Regions from separate parts of the Homo sapiens genome. Here regions 1, 2, 3, 5 and 6 are each linked to region 4. Evidence: promoter capture Hi-C in 16 types of primary human blood cells and fetal thymus (Javierre and others, 2016). All regions are on one chromosome and are shown on one strand. Each heading gives the region's core, a stretch centred on a gene start or on the middle of the fragment in contact. The rest is flanking DNA. Distances are from core to core; before and after follow the strand shown. Region 1 has its middle 29 kb from the start of MIR4757. Region 2 has its middle 45 kb from the start of OSR1. Region 3 has its middle 10 kb from the start of MIR4757. Region 4 holds the start of NT5C1B (5'-nucleotidase, cytosolic IB). Region 5 has its middle 23 kb from the start of OSR1. Region 6 overlaps LOC105373458 (a long non-coding RNA gene).

The links. The method cuts DNA at HindIII sites, captures the fragments that hold promoters and counts their contacts. A CHiCAGO score of 5 or more calls a contact.
Region 1: a fragment that was not itself captured here is called in contact with the fragment with the promoter of NT5C1B in region 4 in 3 of 17 cell types (total CD8 T cells, total B cells and total CD4 T cells); the score reaches 6.5 in total CD8 T cells.
Region 2: a fragment that was not itself captured here is called in contact with the fragment with the promoter of NT5C1B in region 4 in 3 of 17 cell types (M2 macrophages, M1 macrophages and monocytes); the score reaches 5.5 in M2 macrophages.
Region 3: a fragment that was not itself captured here is called in contact with the fragment with the promoter of NT5C1B in region 4 in 1 of 17 cell types (total CD8 T cells); the score reaches 5.1 in total CD8 T cells.
Region 5: a fragment that was not itself captured here is called in contact with the fragment with the promoter of NT5C1B in region 4 in 1 of 17 cell types (M2 macrophages); the score reaches 6.2 in M2 macrophages.
Region 6: a fragment that was not itself captured here is called in contact with the fragment with the promoter of NT5C1B in region 4 in 2 of 17 cell types (monocytes and total CD8 T cells); the score reaches 5.3 in monocytes.

Annotation. Positions count from the first base shown.
Region 1 is chr2:19,318,251-19,321,261 of GRCh38, forward strand. No RefSeq gene overlaps it. Among named protein-coding and RNA genes, the nearest start is that of MIR4757, 29 kb to the right of the region's middle. The HindIII fragment of the contact is 1,990 bases long and covers 434-2,423 here.
Region 2 is chr2:19,401,994-19,404,921 of GRCh38, forward strand. No RefSeq gene overlaps it. Among named protein-coding and RNA genes, the nearest start is that of OSR1, 45 kb to the left of the region's middle. The HindIII fragment of the contact is 931 bases long and covers 1,024-1,954 here.
Region 3 is chr2:19,336,663-19,339,627 of GRCh38, forward strand. No RefSeq gene overlaps it. Among named protein-coding and RNA genes, the nearest start is that of MIR4757, 10 kb to the right of the region's middle. The HindIII fragment of the contact is 986 bases long and covers 986-1,971 here.
Region 4 is chr2:18,588,101-18,591,053 of GRCh38, forward strand. NT5C1B (5'-nucleotidase, cytosolic IB) reads right to left here and starts at 1,469. Exons shown (of 9, transcript NM_033253.4): 1 at 1,339-1,469. The coding sequence starts at 1,368. NT5C1B-RDH14 (NT5C1B-RDH14 readthrough) reads right to left here and starts at 1,469. Exons shown (of 11, transcript NM_001199104.2): 1 at 1,339-1,469. The coding sequence starts at 1,368. All of the region lies in intron 2 of LOC105373456 (a long non-coding RNA gene), which reads left to right. The HindIII fragment of the contact is 3,581 bases long and covers 1-2,336 here.
Region 5 is chr2:19,380,060-19,383,062 of GRCh38, forward strand. No RefSeq gene overlaps it. Among named protein-coding and RNA genes, the nearest start is that of OSR1, 23 kb to the left of the region's middle. RefSeq lists an enhancer at 310-1,509. The HindIII fragment of the contact is 2,032 bases long and covers 427-2,458 here.
Region 6 is chr2:19,428,906-19,431,970 of GRCh38, forward strand. LOC105373458 (a long non-coding RNA gene) reads right to left here. Exons shown (of 3, transcript XR_939778.2): 3 at 1,088-2,782. Among named protein-coding and RNA genes, the nearest start is that of LINC01808, 38 kb to the right of the region's middle. The HindIII fragment of the contact is 1,111 bases long and covers 966-2,076 here.

The DNA of each region.
Region 1 (3,011 bases), core at 179-2,678, 730 kb after region 4:
TATGTAAGTTTTAGAATGTTTGTATCAAGGTCTTCAAAATACCCCACTAGAATTTTAAATGGAATTATATTGAATTTATAAGTTAATTTGGGGAGACAGCTTGATAATATTAAGTCATTCCATACAAAAACTGGGAATGTATATCCATTTAAATAAATCATCTTGTACATACTCAAGTAGAATTTAACATTTTTATATAAATCTGTGTATGCCTTATTAAGGTAACTCCTAGATACTTTATAGTTTTTATTGATATTACGAAAGTTATTGTCAAAAAAAGTTATTGTCTTTGTTGTTTAAGTTTTTTAGTTGATAGTTTATTATAGCTGGTGAAAATAATGTTAAATATATTTAAGTTGATCTGGGATCTGGCAAATTTACTGAATTTTCTCATTACTTCTAATAGTTTATCTGGGGTTTTTTCCCCTATGGAAGCTTCTTTTAGTTTTCTTTTATCAGTTCCCTCACTGAGCCAACTGATATAATAAAAACACTCCAAAGAAAATATTTTAAAAGAAAAATTATAAATTATAAAAGAAAAATATTTTTTTGGAATTTTTTCTATTTGGAGATTATAGATTCAACAGGCTGAGTAACTTTTTTAAAAATAACTACATGGTGAATAATGGGAACCAAGAAGAAAGATCTAACTATGTATGTTTTAATGTAGAACATGTTCTGCATGGAAGCTACAATTGGAAGTAGATACTCCTCTTGGATCTCGTAGATTTGTGAATATTGTATAAATTTCCTTTGTTTCACAGTTATATAGATGTTGTACATAGATAAAATTGAGACATAAAAGTTATACTACGGTTTATAAAAACAGGTTTTCATCAGCTTGTGTTCAGCAAATATCTTGTGAAAAGAAGTAGAAGACCATTTGTTATGTGGCAACACTGACAGTTGCAGTGCAAGGATGGTCACTCAGTCTGAGTCACCAGGACTGGAACACTGACCATGGCACGCATCCTCCCAAGAAATGTCTGCTGCTACACTGTTTCCTCTTGCCAGCTCTACTGTTCTGCATCCTTCACCCTCTGTCCTCTTTACGCTTTTGGCTACAGTAGGCACAGGTTAAAGTCCTCCAACTGGAAACATTTGTGAAAACTGTTCCAAGTTCCTTGAACTTTTGTCAGTTTTGTGGTATGCATTTCAAACAGTGGCAGATGTTTCCCCTGTGCTATTCACAGCCTCCCTCCAGTTTCAAAGCAGGAAGAGCCCTGAAGCAAATGAGGGCTATCTCTTGCTAAAAGCAGGAATATCATACCCAAAAAGAAAATTCAGCTTGAAAGGAGTAAGTCACAAGTTTCAAGATCCTTTGGTGGATTTTTAAATGATGGTAGTAACCCTGATCACACAAAGGTCAGTTAGAATACCCATATTCTTTCATACCACCCAAGCCTTTCCCGAGTTCTTTTCTTACAGCCTATCAAAGAGCAACTGGAAGGCCTCTGTGGCTCCCCCCACCAGCAAACATGAGATTCCATTCCCATCTTGGACAAGGAGCTAAGAATCACCCCATGCTCAAGTAAGTAGTGGGGTCTGCCATCATGAAAACTGGCTCCCCAAGGAATGTGCTGGGGCAGGAAGGAAGGAGGGACTGACACTGGGACATGAATCTCACTCAGCTCTTTTAAGACAGGCACATGCTGCCACCTGGTTCCCATTACAGCTTCACTATAGTAAGATTTGGCCACTGAGGCACCCAGGTGGAAGAATGAGACTCAGGCCCTCAGTGCTTAGAGCCGGAGAATGTTCCCAGCATATCACAATTACAGAAACATCTGTGCCCAACAGCTTTCCGTTGAACTGCTGTGAAAATTTACAGTGTTCGATTGCTTTCAGAATTTCTCACTTCTCAGCCTAAGGCAGGGTGGTCCCAAGGCTGCCAGTGAATTGCAGCAGGAAGTGAGAGAGATCACAATTTCCAGGGTTTGGATGAAATGTGGCACAAGGGTGTGAGGGGTGAGCCTGGAGCCCCAAGTGCTACAGGCTTCCATCAGCTGGTTATCTTTTCCTTCCTTTTTCATTCAATCAACATATACTTCCTGAGCATGACGTGAACTGACTTCACCATGGATAAAAATCTGAGTAAGCGTTGGTCCTCAAAAAGCCAAGAATTTAGAGAGAAGTAACCACTGGTTAAAATTGATTTGTATTATATACTACATTTTTTATTTTGAAACCACAAGACAATAAAAGTTTTCATGTATTATACTAAATATGTAAATAAACTCTATCCATTTAGAAGTACCATCTAGAACAGCACTAATCAAATTAAGGCCTCAAACTAGCTACATGAGCATCACCTGGTATCTTGTTAGAAATGTAAATTCTCTGACACCCCCCACCTCACCTACTAGTTGGGATTAATACTAGGAATCTGTATATTAAAAAGCTCTACAGGTGATGCTCACTAAAGCTTCAGCAGCATTGACCTAGAATATAAACAACAACAACAACAACAACAAAATCCTAAGCAAATAGGATACCCAAAACAACCCAACTTGATTTTTCCAGGGGAACCAGGAGAAAAAACCAAGAAGGATGAACTAGCCATTGTAGCACAAGAGAGGGTCACAAGCATTTGGAGGTGGGAGTAGATTAATAATTCTAGGAGCAGTAGTAAGAGCCAGCAGAGGGAGGAATTAATAAAGTCTTGAAAAATCATGGAGTATATATGAGGATATTTTGTTATTTAGACCTTGTTAATGTATGATGTAATGCAAAGACCGCCCAACAATTTAAGAATAAACTATGCTTATACTTTTAGATAATGACTGTGTATAGTTGTAAACACTGGCCAATGAAGGCCTCTGTCATTGTTTACATAACATCCCCACAACCATCACTACCACCTTACTATCCTATGAATCAAGGGTTTTCACTTTTTCCATCTTTTAGATGTTTTAACTCTTGGTTAGAATGATATTATATTTTACCTAGAGGCAAAATGTGTAGCAGAGAGACGAGCCAGCCGCTCTGCTTGAGGAGGGCACCGGGAGGCC
Region 2 (2,928 bases), core at 239-2,738, 810 kb after region 4:
AAAAGAAAGTATTTGTTGTTTTTCAAAAACAGTATTTTCTAATTATATTGTACTGTCATAGCTTATTCCAGTAGAGTGGCAGACACAGTGGCAAGCTCTGCTATCTTAAGTCAGCTCATGGACAACTAAGCTGTAGAGGACTGCCCTAGCATTAACATTGCTCTACCTGATAGCTCAACAAAGTATTTGTTATGCATTCCTTTAACTATGCAAAGAATCATCTAATCCTTCATGCCTCCACCATATTCTAATTCTAATCTATTCTATCCTCTATCCACCTCCCAATAACTATTCTCCTTGGGTAGCATGTCATCAAAGAGAGACTCTTTTCATATTGTGGTCCCAGCTTTTATTTCTCTATTTTTCAAGCTGAGCTTGGCAAGTCTATCTGCTAATGTACCTACTCCTACATCTGCAATTCTACTGGAATCCACACAGTTAGATTTAATCAGACAACCTCAGTTCTCATCATTTCCTGCTACTTTGAGCATGTTTAGTTTGCAAGCTACCATATTTCTAGTGATTATTTGGCAAAGGATTTTGCTGGTATCTACTGCACGGTCTCCCTTCCAGTTTGACTTAGTTGATGTATATGAACATTTACAAACACAACCAAAAGAAACGAGTTAGAATGGCTTTCTCTTCTTAGTATTGTACTGTACTTAAATTCTTTCTGGTTCAATTTTTTTATTCAAGAACAGACTTTGAAGGGATTAGCCATAATCTAACCCCTTCTTGACTTACATGTAAAACAAACTTGTCCATTATCTATCTCTTAGTGATTTCAGAATTAAAGGTCTTTGAACCTTATTAACACAGACGATATGTTAGATGGAAAATGCCATTATTCTGTGTGCCATAACAATTTTAAACTCTTTTCAGACATGTGTTTCTGTCTTCATTGGCATTTGCCTAGGATGTTTTATATGATTAGAACTTAGTAATGGGGAAAAGCTCAATTAAGCAAATAATTGTTGAGGGATTAAGAGCATTGCACAGCACCGTGATCCTCTGGTTTGCCTAAGCTTTCCCAAAGAATCATCTGACAATTTTTCTCATTGAGCTGTGCCAGCATATAGCAAAGTTTGTATTAGCTTGGTCCAAATGGACTCAGTTAGAAGATAGTATATCTGCAGCAGCAGAGCCACCTCCTAGCCTCCCTCACTCACCATCCTGAGCGATACCCTCCCTGTTGATCTCATCCCCGTAAGCCATTCATTTAATGTTTCCTGGGTGGAATCCCATTTCTGCAGCCCACCCCTACCCTAATCCACAAAGTTCACTTGCTTAGTAAGAGGTTTCCTCCACTGGAACAGGAACTCCAAGCTCAGAGATGGTGCTATCTGTTCCTTTTCCTTCACTGGATTATCAACATGCATCCAATTAGCAAGTCTGACAGTGGCATTTATATTAATGTTTTCAGAAACAACTCAGATAACATCTTGTGCAGGCTGCAACCCTAGACTTTGTCACCACTGAGAATACATGAACCCAGGATAGAACCTCCAGGGAAGTAGGGTACTTAAAGTGATCTCAGAGTCCCCCAAATCTCCACACAGGCCATGGATGTATTTCATATGTGCAATATTTTATTTCATTTTTGTTTTGTGCTACACTCTATTTCTTGATGTGGAAGCAGCAAAAATGCCAAATATCCCTTTAATAGCATTCCAAAGTACCTTTTAATATGACTCAATAGAGGAAATAATTAAGCATTTGTGTTAAATTGTTTATGGTAAAGATATTAGAAAAACACAAAATAATTTTCTAATGAATTAGAAAAACACAAAAGGTTATATTCATATCTAATTTTGAATGAAATAGAAAGTGTAAAAGTTACTAGGGATAACACTTAAGTAAAAAGAGAAACATAAGAATCCCACCATCTATAAATGCAGAGCACTGAAAGATGATAAGCATCATTTGAATGCAACACCAAATAGAATGAAGACAAAGCTTCTGTAAGAAAAAGAAAATTGCTGACTGTAGTAAAAACTCACAGTCAATTATCTGCTATGAATCCATGACTAAATACCTGCGGAGAGACAATCACGGCCCAAGACACCATAAGAAAATGTGCACTAGGTGTTATACCCTTACGGCCCTGGGAAAGTGAGACGGTGGAGGACAGTGATGAATAAGGCCTCCTGCAGTTGTCAGCAGGGGTGGTGCAGGTTCACTAGGAACTGCTGTTCTATTCTACACACACTTTGGTTAACATAGATACCAAGAAGCAGAGACTTGCTAGTAATTTTTCAGTGGCTCAGATTCCAGGAATTTCTGTGTTAGAAACAGATATTTGGTGGTCTGAGAATATTACTGAGCAAAGATACTTTTCCACCATAAGCAGCTTCTGATTGCAAGATAAATTCACCAGAAAATGTCCATAAATTTTCACTAAACAATAAAGATTTCACAGGAAGCATCATAAAGCCTATTACTTACTTGAATGAGTAATATTGTCATTATGGAAAAAAAAACCCAAAAGAACAAACAACTAACATTGTCAAAAAAGTAGAATATTTTGCCAAGCAATAAATCATCAAAAAATATATAAAACTTCACTGCAGACCAATCTGGGTAACACAGCAAGGCCTTGTCTCTACAAAAGATAAAAAATAAAAATATTAGCCAGGCATAGTGGTGTGCACCTGCACTCCAAGTTACTCAGGAAGCTGAGGCAGAAAGATTGCTTGAGCCCAGGGGTTCAAGGTTACAGTGAGCTATGATTGCACTACTGCACTCCAGCCTGGCGTGGAGTAAGAACGTGTCTCTAAGCAAAACAAAATAAAACAAAAAAACCCGACAAACTTTACTGTTTAAAAATTCATTTTAGGTTGACAAAACAATTAGCATTCCTTCTGAAACTGAGATCAACATGTGAAAATGTTGTCTGATTGTGTAAACCAAGATGACAGGTTGAATATA
Region 3 (2,965 bases), core at 229-2,728, 750 kb after region 4:
ACAAAGCATCTGGTTTTGAAGGGTGGCAGAAGTATTTCAGCTAGTTCATCAATAAGATGGAAAAGAACACTTAGACGGTATCTTTCTACTAATGTTACAAATTAAACTCTGTTATAGAATAAAAATACATAAACACAAGTCAAACACAATGGGACTGTTGTGCCTCTGACCACATCAGGGCCATCCCAGATGTGACATTAATTCTGAAGCCTGCGCCTGCCCAATTTGGCAGCCAAGCAGCTGCCGTGAATGAACTTTGGAAATGCTACAATATTAGCCTTCACTGCTAATCCTGCTAATGCACTCACAATCTATTTGACAGCCTGCCCATCACATCCCCACTGTCAGGGCGAGCAGCCTTTGGAGGTGACTGTGATGAGAGGATTACTGAAAGAACACCCCAGGGTACAGAGTGGCCCTCTATCCATTGCATTCTGACTAGTGCTGTAGATAGGCCACATACCACAGAGGGCACTGGACAGAAGCCTGTCTTCCATACACCCCCTTGGCACACAGGTACCAGAGGGAGAAGGTCACCAACCCAAAGGGATGGTGGTTTTCAAAGAGCCATGCCATGCCTCCAGTCTCATCATGCAGAAAGAAAGTAAGGCCACTTGAAGGAAAAATTCACAGGCCAGAGGGCCCTGGATCATTCCTTACTAGCAGAGCTCTCCTCTCTAGAAGCCCTACTTGCTACAGAAAAGTGAAAAAAGGTTCTGGCCCCTTGGGATGAGTCAAAGGATGCCCCTCCCCCTCCTTTCCCTCTAGCTACCAGGTTCCTCAGGGAGTGGTTGACACTCCATAAAAGCTGCATTTACAGCTTTGACTTCATTAAACTAGCAGGATTGCTTTATTTGCCTTCTAAATTTTCAGGACTTTTATTTAAAATGTTTCATCCTAAACAGAATAAAATGGAAATAAAAGGTGCAGCCTTCATCGCATCTTATAATTATTTGGAAAAGCAATCTAGGATGTCCTAGAGCAAAGCTTTTGTTCGCACTTCCAAAAATGTCCCTTCTGGGCAGCCCCTTCATGCTGGCTGCCGTCAGGGCTACCAGTAGATTGTTCTTTTTACTCCAGTTTTAAACACACAGTTCTCATTCTCAACCTAATGATCAGAAGCATGTTTTTCCCAGGAGCACAATTAACCAGTCACCCCTCTTTACCTTGAAGTTTCCTCATTTCTGTAATTGGACCAAGGCTGTTCTCCTCCAAAGTCCGGCTTAGCTAGGAACACCTTCTCAAGCTCAGGTGCCACAAAAGGCACAGGGAATGCTGAGATAAGCAGAATTGGCTCATGTCCTCAAGGAGCCTGCAGTCTATAAGCAGATATTTGTAATATAGCATCAGAAATGTTAAGTCACAGCTTTTATAGAAGTACATTGGAGAAGTCCCTGGACCAGACTGAGAAGGTAAAAAAGTTTCAGGCTGCATCCTGAAAAAGTCTGGTCTGGGTGACACTATATGCTGACTGCCTTCTTCAGCTATATTTCAGCCATACTGATCATACGGATCATTAGTATAAGGAACCTGGCTAAAGAAGAAACTCTGAAGGGCAATGGAAAGTCTAAGCCATGTCCCATCAAGACGGCAACCTGAAACCCATCTGAGGCCTCACTGCCACCTCTGTTAGCCCTTGACATTCCCAGCTGAGGTGCTCCAACATTTTTCAGGTTCACAAGCTCATACTCCAGCTAGTGAAAGGAACAGAAATGCAGTATAACATCATAAACACTATGCCACCCTCTCAAACAAGCATCATCCTCTTCTGAAGAAAGACAAGCATGAGGTCCCTAGTGCAGGCAGGGGTTGGCCACATTTCTGCTCTCTTCCTTCTCCCAGGATGGGCTCCCTCCTGAATGAGACACCCCGGAAGGCTACCCTGTGAAGCAGGAGGAAGACTTCCACTTTGTGCTTGGACTTCCGCTTTCATCCTTCCTGTGCCAGCACTCAGAGCACCTGGTGAGGCAAAGCTTTCTCAGCCCAGGACCTCTTAGCTGCTTTCTTCCTCACCAGCAGGAGGTCAGAGCCCAGCACTCCTCATTTGTCAGGCCAGGGCCTCCCCTCAATGAATCTCAGTTACAGGGAGGCAGTACAGGGTCCTGGGAGCCCATGGATTTTGGAGTCTGAAGAATCTGGATTTGAAGGCTGGTTCTATGATTTACTAACTTTGTTATCTTGTACAAAAATGTACTTCTGAGCCTCAGTTTCCTCATTTAAAAAAATGGGAATATTTGTGATTGCAAATCTCTTGGCACAATGTTTCAGATATGGTAAGGATTCAACAAATGGTAGCTATATAGAATATCCCCTCCCCATAGGTCTGCATTCTATAATAAACATCATCTCTTACTAAGGAAGGAAGGAAGGATTCTCATGAGAAAGTGAGGGACTCTAGGCTCCTTGGAAAGCAGCTAAGGAGAGCTCAAGTGAGAGGTGGGTGGTTGGTTCTCAAAGGGTGAAACTCTCGCACGTATTTCTGAAATCAAGGTGAGACAGTTTTGTTCATGATCCAGATGCAGATGCATGCCTCCTATGCCAGGGGTAAGTGGACCCCTAGGGCCAAAGGAGGCACCAAGCCAAAGCCAGCTGTGCACCCATCTCTCTTTGCTATGTGTCTGCAGGAGGGTGGGTTGGGGGGGGGCGGCGGTGTTCCAAGCACCTCGATGGACCTGGTGTCAGTCAGGTAGGCCTAGGACAATCATTCTTAGTGAAAAATAATAAAACCAACAAACTGAAAAGGGCAGAATGGATTTTTTCCCCTGGGCTCCTCAGAGGTTATATTAGCAGCTCTGAAGATTCTTTCTTGGTCACTGATATTCAGGCGCCATGCCTTTCTGGCCTGTACACATTATGCTGCTCAGAATAATTTATATAGCAGGGAAATAAGTCGATATTAGAGATTCAAAGAAAACTCTAGACATTTTACATTTTTTCCTGTCAGTCAAAAATATATTTAGCAACT
Region 4 (2,953 bases), core at 219-2,718:
ATGTCTTCTGTTCCTATCATTTAATTACTCATAGATCTAGAGTGGAAAGGGATTTCTTACCAACAAATTAACAACAGATAGGGAAAACCAAGTAAAAGAGCACAAGAAGATGACTCACTTTATGGAACTCTACTCAAATATTTATGTTTTCATTTTCATTTGGAGGAGATACTTATTGGAATATTATTTGAACTGTTTCATGCTAAGTAAGTAGCTGCAATGTGATCAAGATTAGTGTTATTTATATGTTTAAGGAGCACAACTTCTAAGTTAGACCAAGATCCACTAGAGCAGTCTATATTCATCCGTTTATGCTCTGTGTCTTGCATGCAGGAAAAATCTCATCAATGTTAGTTGCATGAGAATGTTAGTTGCATGAGAGAATGGCATAGCTGTATGACTCCTGAACTAATTTTAAAATCTTTTCATCAACCCTCACTCACCTTATACACATACATAGCAGTCACCATAATACCTCTTACTTCTAATTCCAAATGATATTTTGAATCCAGTTCCTTTTTTCTATCTCTATTATCATTGCCTTGTTCCAGGTCTCTGACCATCCTGGGACTACATTTTCAGAATATAGCCTTTCAAACAGGTTTCATGGCCTTAAATCCTCTCCACTTCTAGATCTGTCCACCGTATTTATTTAGAGTAATATTTACAAGATGTAAATCTAGTAATGCTTCATTCCTGGATAAACACTTTCTTCACTTGGTTTGACCAGGAGCCTCATGATGTTTTCCTGTGTACCTGCTACTTGCATGCCCTTCACTCTATACTTTATCACTATGTTCTACTAATACCAAGTGACTTGTATTTGCCTGCATACACCAGCCTTATTTCCTTATGGTCTCCTCTTCTCTCCTGTGTTCTTCGAAACCCAGCTCAGTGTGACCTGGGGGAAGTTCCCAGAGTGAAATATTGCCCTGTGTTCCTTGTGTCTTTTGTACATACTTTTATGGAGCAATGAGTTGTCCTTTGTCTATTGTCTTTCCTACTAGGCCATGCATTCTTCAAAGACAGCCACTGTTTTTACCTTTTACTACTAACATATGAGTATATGCTAAATGAATACTGACTTATTGGAATCATTTATATACTACACGTTTTTTAATCTCTTTCTTTGCTGTCTTAATTTCTTTTAAATTTCTCCTTCTTCCCTTTTCTGTACTCTTTCCATTGCCTTTATTCTCTCCCTTCTCTTTTCCTCTACCTGAAGCCATTATCTGAAATTATTTGATCATTGCAGAGCCTTTGCAGAGGCAAATGATGGACTGATATCCACATTTCTTCAGCCCCATGGCAAGATTCTAAGACACTCGGTTCACTCACCTTTTTCTGTTTGAGAGATGTTTGACTCATTTTTTTACCTGTTGAAATTCTTTTGTTGTTATCCACATTTTTGTCTCCCCAGCTCCATTTCCTGTCACTTCCCTTGCTCAGTCTAGCTTTGCATTTAGAATGTCAAATTTATGACATCATATGTGATTCCATAGTAACAAACTGACTCTATGAATATGTGATTAACCTTTTCTTAAAAAACAAAAAATAAATGTTTCTTCATTTTGAGTGTATCTGCTCATAGCCATTGTCTTTGTTTTCAGAAATTGATGTCTAAACATTGTTCAAATGTTCAATATGTAGCAATATCAATATTACCACTTCCTTTTTAAATCTTTTTAAGCATTTCTCTGCCATTCATTATATTAATCCCATTTGTGACTGTCTGTTTCCTGGTACTGCCAAAATGAATGGCAAAGTCATTTGTGGATCCAATCATTTATCCATGTTCATTCTGCCAGACAGACTTTGGAGGGCTTTTCTCAGATCTAGAGACTATTTTTGACAGCTGGGATTTTGTTCCAGACATGGAGTTTAGACTTGAGTTTGAGTTTAGCTTTAATGTCTCATGTTTCTTTCAATGGCAAAACCTGTTGAGGAAGACACTGTCAAAGCCCCTTCCCCATGGCTAGACTCAGTGTAGAATGTTACCTTTGCTGCCCCATCCTTAACCCTTAACCCTGGGCTGCCCCATCCTTAACCCTTTAAACACTAAAGCTAAACTCAAACTCAAGTCTAAACTCCATGTCTAGAACAAAATCTCAGCTGTCAAAAATAGTTTCCAGATCTGAGGAAAGCCCCCCAAAGTCTGGGAGAGTGAACATGGATAAATGATTGGGTCCACAAATGAGTTTGTGATTCATTTTGGCAAGTAACAGGAAACATACAGTTACAAATAGAATTGATATTTGTAAAAAGTAGCCCCTAACTCTGGTTTACAGAATCTAAACATGTTCTCCATTTTAGTTTTCTCCTTTTATCTTCACCCAAGCTTTAGATAGGAGACATGTGCCATGCCAACCTGAGCTGGTGAAATCATCAAGGACTGAGGCAGGTTTCCAGCCTGTTTTCATGGGACAAGTTGATAGCTAAGGTTGAATATCGGAAGTTGTTGATGGTTTTAATTTAAGTTATCCAAGGAGTCTTTTAGTTAGTAAAACATTCAGGCTGTAGGTAAGAGTGCCTGGGTTTAAGTTATTTCATCTCTCCCCTACTCCCCACTGTACACCCAACCCCCAGCATTCTACCCAAAATTTGTACAGGGGTCATTTGTTTTTGCATGGTTATGATGTTATTGTGTAATATTTGTATAAGTTATGTAGACAATCAAAGTTGTAAGTGCTATACGTTTCAGAGTAACTTCAGAGAACCTTACCTTTTCTATTAAAATCACACCCCTAAGTACCAAGAGCATCTTTATTTTCTTAGTATGCTGTGTTTGGGGCCAGAGCAGCTAATGTGAATTTCATCTCATTGTAATTAGGTGTTTTATTTCTACTATTCAGGATTATAAACTCATTATGGCTTCTTAGCACTCCTTCGAGGGAGAGAGCAGAGGCTTCTGTTATAGGTTTCATGGGTAGGACTTCACTTAGGGAAGCCTGAC
Region 5 (3,003 bases), core at 193-2,692, 790 kb after region 4:
CCAGCACTGCTAACAGATGCACTGATTGAAACCTATGATAAATACACGGTAATTTGTGAGTACCTCTGAAACCACAAATTGGAACATAAATAAAAGAAAGAAAATGGATGTTTGGTACTACTGGGAATAATAATGATGCATTAACTGGGAATAAATATTATGGTATTTCACTGTACAAGAATATATTATATGCATGGTAAGAGGAAGGACTTGACAAGGTTATTAATTTGTCTCTTCTTTCACTTAAGCATTTCCATTATTTAGATCCTCCCTGAAAAAACGTATAGTCTCAAATGATGAAAAAGATCTATCAATCAGATAAAGCTTGATCAGAAAAGCAGGCCACTATAACTGATACAGAATCAGGAATTAATCATAGGAATTAGACCTCATGCAACCCTGGGAGCTGTTTACACCATCTACATAAGCTTCTTGTCTCTGTGTCTAGTATTGATTGAAAGTCAGCAGGGGCAGTGGATATTCATGCAATGGCAGAAAGCAATGACAACCTGGAACTCCATCTGTCTTTTAATGCCTCCAGGCTTGGTAATGTGGGTGACCTGCAGGGTATTTTGGCACACTTTTCCATGGAGATGTCCATGCACCTGACCTAGGATTTAGAGAAGATGAAGAAGATTCACAAGGAGTTGGAGGAGCTGTGGGCCCAGCTACTGCCCCATCACAATGAGTCAGCAGATCATTAAAAGTATTTGAGAGCTGTAACAACACCTGATGCACACAGTTCTTTCAAGTGTAAAATGGCTTCACCTCTGACTTCCAAATCCTGAAGAGATGTCTACTGAGTCAACTTTAGCCCAGAACCACCTACACAAAGAAATTCTGGGAAATGTGGTTTAAGTTCAGCAAGGTTGATATGCTACAAAATCACCACAATAGTCCCAAATCTTTTACTACAGTAAGTGAGTTCCAGTTGCTTAACATCTTCACCAAAATTTGGTGGTAACGGTTTTTCATTTTAGCCATTTGATGTTGTATAATGAATGATATCTCACTGGAGATTTAATTTGCACTATTTGAAGACTAATGAGATTGAGCACTTTATTACACGTTAATTGGCCATAAGAATATCTTCTTTTGTGAAGTTCCTATTCAATTCTTTTGCCCACTTTTCTATTTGGCTTTTTCTTATTTTGTATGGGTTATTTTTATATTCTTGATATGCGTTCTCTTTCAAATATATTTTTTGTAACTATTTTCTTCCACTAAGTGGCTTGTCTTTTTGACCTATTAATGGTATATTTTCATAATCAGTTCCTAATTGCAACGTAGTCTTTTTTTTGCAGGTTCATTTCACATCCCTTTTAAGAAATCTTTTCTTACTTCAAGGTTATAAAGTTATTTTCTTACGTTGTCTTCTAGAAATATTATATATTTACCTGCTGCACTGCTTTACATTTATCTACATATGTTTTGTCTGTTTTTCTAGTTGTTTATGATGGAAAGATATTCTCAAAGCCGTTAATTCATTCCTTCTGAATGGAGGCAGAAGTTTGCTTGGTTTTTTATCTTCTTGCCCTGTGCAACATCACAATTTAACAAAGGCATTGAAAGGAAAGTTGCTGGGTGTTGTGTCATGTCTTTGAACCCCACTTCTCTTGATCTCTCACGTCCTGGCTGCCTTCTGAGTCTCAAACTCCAACTTTTGTTTCCTAGTTTTGTGAGGTTACTGAAACTCTGCTGGCTTCTCTAATTCTTAGCACTAACCTCTACCTGTCCTCATCTTGTTCTTAAAAAAATTGTAACTGATCTGAAGGGAAAAGTGATGTATTGATGTATTTATGTATACAATATTGATGCACCTACTTTTTCTCTGAGACCTTGGCCACTCAAATCCTGTATAATACGCTAATACCTTCAAGCATCCCCCCTCCCCCATTTTATCTGTCCTTTGTAGTTGTTCTCAGCGAAATAGTAGGAATAGTTCTTTCATTCCCTTGTCTAATAATTTGAAGAAATGCCATCTTTATAGGTCTGTTTCTGCTGCTTCTAGTATATCATGCTTTTTGTACTTGTGTACTGTATGAGGGTTCTCCAGAAAAACAGAACCAATAAGATGTACACATATATATGTGTATATATATATGTGTGTGTGTGTGTGTGTGTGTGTACTTCAAAAAGTTTGTGGAAAATTGAATTAAAAGGTAAACATAAAAATATGAATTTTATTATTTTATTTCTCAACATAAGCTCCATCCACTTTAAGGCATTTTTATAAGTGATGATACCAGCCATTTAGTCAGTACAGTCTTTTTTACATTATTAGCTGAAGAAAAATTTGTGCATTTTAAAGATTTTTGTTTAATTGGGAAACAAAAATAAATCATAAGAAGCCAAATCAGGACTAATGATTTTCTATTGAAACTCTCACAAAACTTCCCTTGTTTAGTGAGAGGAATGAGCAGGAGCATTGTCAGGATGGGGAAGGACTGTCTGGTAAAGCTTTCCTGGATGCTTTTCTTCTAAAGCTTTGACTAACTTTCTCACAACACTCTCATAGTAGGTAGATGTATTGTCTTTGGCCCCCCAGAAAGTCTACAAGCAAAACCCCTTGAGGATCTAAAAAAAAAAAAAAACTGTTGCCATGACTTCTGCTCTTGGCCAGTCCACTTTTACTTTGACTGGATCACTACCGCCTCTTGGTAGTCATTGCTTTGATTGTGCTTTCTCTTCAGAATTATACTGGTAAAGTCATATTTCAGCTCCTGTTATAGTTCTTTGAAGAAAATCTTCAAGATCTTGATCCCACTTGTTTAAAATTTCTATTGAAAGCTCTGTCTTTATTTGCAGCTGATCAGGGTGCAATGGTTTTGGCACCCATTAAGTATAAAGTTTGTCCAACTTTTATTATTTAGTCGGAATTGTATAATCTGAACCAATAAAGATGTTTATGGTTCGGGCTATTGTTTCTGCTGTTAATCATCAGTCCTCTTCAATTGAGGCACAAAAAGGATGAAATTTTTCCTCACAAATTGGTGTGGATGG
Region 6 (3,065 bases), core at 271-2,770, 840 kb after region 4:
GGGGAATTGCTTGAATCTGGGAGGCGGAGGTTGCAGTGAGCCAAGATTGTGCCACTGCACTCCAGCTTGGGTGACAGGACACAGCAAGACTCTGTCTCAAAAAAAAAAAAAAAAAAAAAAAAAAGAATCACAGCCACTTCTCTCTCCTCATAGCCTTTATAAGCAATTATAACCTTAACCTATACCACTTTAAGAATCAAATCAATTATTTTTCTATTCTCTTTTTTGTTCTTGTTTCCAGAGCAGTGGTTTTCAAAATGTGGTCACTAGTCCAGCAGCATCAGGATCACTTGGGAATTTAGGAATGCAAATTCTCAGGTTTTATCCCAAACCTACTGAATCATAAACTCTGGGGATAGAGCCCAGTAATATAGGTTTTAACCACTGACATAGGGCCAGTAGTCTTGCTTCATAGGAACTAGCTGTACTGGCATAGAGAAACATTACCCATTCCACCTGTAAAGACAGGAGGACAGGAAGCAAGGCATGACAGCCTAGGGCAAGCCTCCATAAAGCTGCATAAAAGGCGTGGTCTGCCAATCCACATGTTGGCACCACAGACCTGATTAAGGGAAACACCTCTGGAAGACAACTGATTTTGAATTTGAGAAGTGATTGCACACCATAATCAGTCAACTGCATGTGTATGAACAGGAGCATCTGCTACTCACATTTTCAAAACTACCTTTTCCACAGGTACATTCCAGAGTGCAACAAACCACTTCCACATGTGGGGGCTGATCTCTCAACTATATATCTTACCTGCCTTTTGTGTCATCACAGATTTCTTTAGAAGTTAAAGTTCACTTCAAAGTCATGGTGAAGTCAAAACTTTTCCAGGTGCAAGGATTTATCTTCAGAGATGTGGGTGATCAAGGCCGGGAAAAACTGTGAGTTAGTGGGGGGCTACCTTCCAGCTAACAGATCTTAAAGCTCATCTCTGCCCACAGTGGAACCACGTGAGAAGCTTTATTAACACATCAGTGTTTGGGCCCCATCTCCCAGAGATTTTGACTTATTTATTTTAAGGTGGGGTATAAGAGTTGGTATTTTTTTAAAAAAACTACCCCATATTCTTCTACTGTGCAGCCCAGTTCCAAAACCACTGCCTTAAATAAATATTTCTTGAGCATTTAATATAAGTGAGTCTCTTGGTAACTGGAAAATTCAAAAGAACACAAGGCAAGAGGCTGTGTCTTCAAGAAGCAGAGAATGGTGGAATGTGGAGCAAAATATACACACCTAACTGGAACCTACAGGAGACTGTGGTAAGTGCTACATTAGAATTACACACAGTTTATAACCCGGGCCAAAGAGAGGGTAGAGTTTATTCTGAGTGGTAACAACTGGATATGGCTTCGCAGAGGAAATTGAATTTGAATTTGGTTTTGAAGGGATTGTAACAGACAAGGGAAAAAGAACATGTTAGGTAGAAAAAGCAAAAATGAACAAAAGCATGGAGGCAAGAAAGTTCAAGCATTTTGAAGGGATAAGTCAACATCATGTAGTTGCAGTATACAGGGAAGGAAGTTGGTAAGGTGGGCTGGAGCCAGATTTCAAATAACTTTGAACAGGATGCTAAAAATCTGCATCTTATGAGCAATGAAGAGTAACCTTATGATAGGTGTCTAAGAAAGACATCTCATTTAGAAGCTAACTGATATTTACACTAATGAAGGTGTTGCTAACTACATTTAGCCAGTGAAACATTTACTGAGCATTTCATTACTTTGTTGCAAGCTCCTGTGCTAGACACTATGAGGGACTAAAAAACATACTCAAGGCAGCAATTTTTCTCTAAATTCTTTTAATAAATAGATTGTTGAAACATACACTCTCATAATTCTATTATACAAAATGGAATTTTGTGGACTAAATAGCTGATTTACGTTGTTGCTCTTAATCGTTCTTGTTTTTTGAAAAAGCAGGCTATATGTGGTAAAAGTAGCTTACTGGAGCCACTTAAAACATTTGCCTAATGGCTACTTATATAAAACATGCATTAAAATACTCTGGGCTTGCAGGGAATACTTATGCCTTGAAGACCATTGTGAAGAAGGGCAACATTCCAGGACAAGCTTATTGCTCAAAAAGATTTCTGCAGTTCAGGCACCTTTCAGTGATGATAAATGTGATGCCTGGTCCCACGTGTGAGCATTTGTATGCAGGTGTTTTTTGGTCTGGTTTTCTTTTATTTGGAAAAGAAGGCACATTCTCTCCTCTTTTGCCATTAATATGAGCAATAACTCCACCCCTCTTGAAAAGGCACTGGATATTCAAATTGTTGACATCTCTTATGGTGAGATCTAAGAGCACCACGCAGCCTGAGCCTCGGACTACTAGTTGCTTGCAGTAACCTCAAGCAGGTCACTTTCCCTCCCTAAATTTCTTTATCTGGAAAGTAGGAAAAATAATAGTACCTGTGGCACAGAAACTGGGTAAGTTCAATGAAATAACAGTGCTAAAAAATTTGAGGTTTTATTACTGAAACAACATGCAGGGCTTTGTGGATGCTGGGGAAGGAGAAAGAAATGAGACCCGGGATCTGCTCTCCCTGGCAAGTCAGTCGCATAGGGCACCTGGGTTGCCTTGCCTCTTGCCTTTCTCAACCTTGTCTGTTTATATCTCCAATCTACAGCTTGGATCTGCTGAGTCCTGAGCTAAAGAGAATAAAACCTGGTGCAGAGTGAGGGTCCCCTTCTCAACAGCAAGTTTTGTCTGGACTTGGTCTTGACAGAGGCCTGGTGGGAGCTATGGCCTGGGCACCCATGTGGCCCTGGAGCTGCAGAAAATACAAGAGATACAGGTGACCTCTAGAAGCCAGAAAAGGTAAGGAAGAAAATTCTCATTGATATGATTTGGCTCTGTGTCCCCACCCAAATCTCATCTTGAAGCTCTCATAATTCCAAAAAGTTGTGGGAGGGACCTGGTGGGAGATGATTGAATCATGGGGGTGGGTGTTTCCCATGCTGTTCTCATGATAGTGAATGAATCTCACAAGATCTGATGGGTTTAAAAATGAGAATTTCTCTGCATAAGCTCTCTCTTTCCTGCTAGTGTTCACA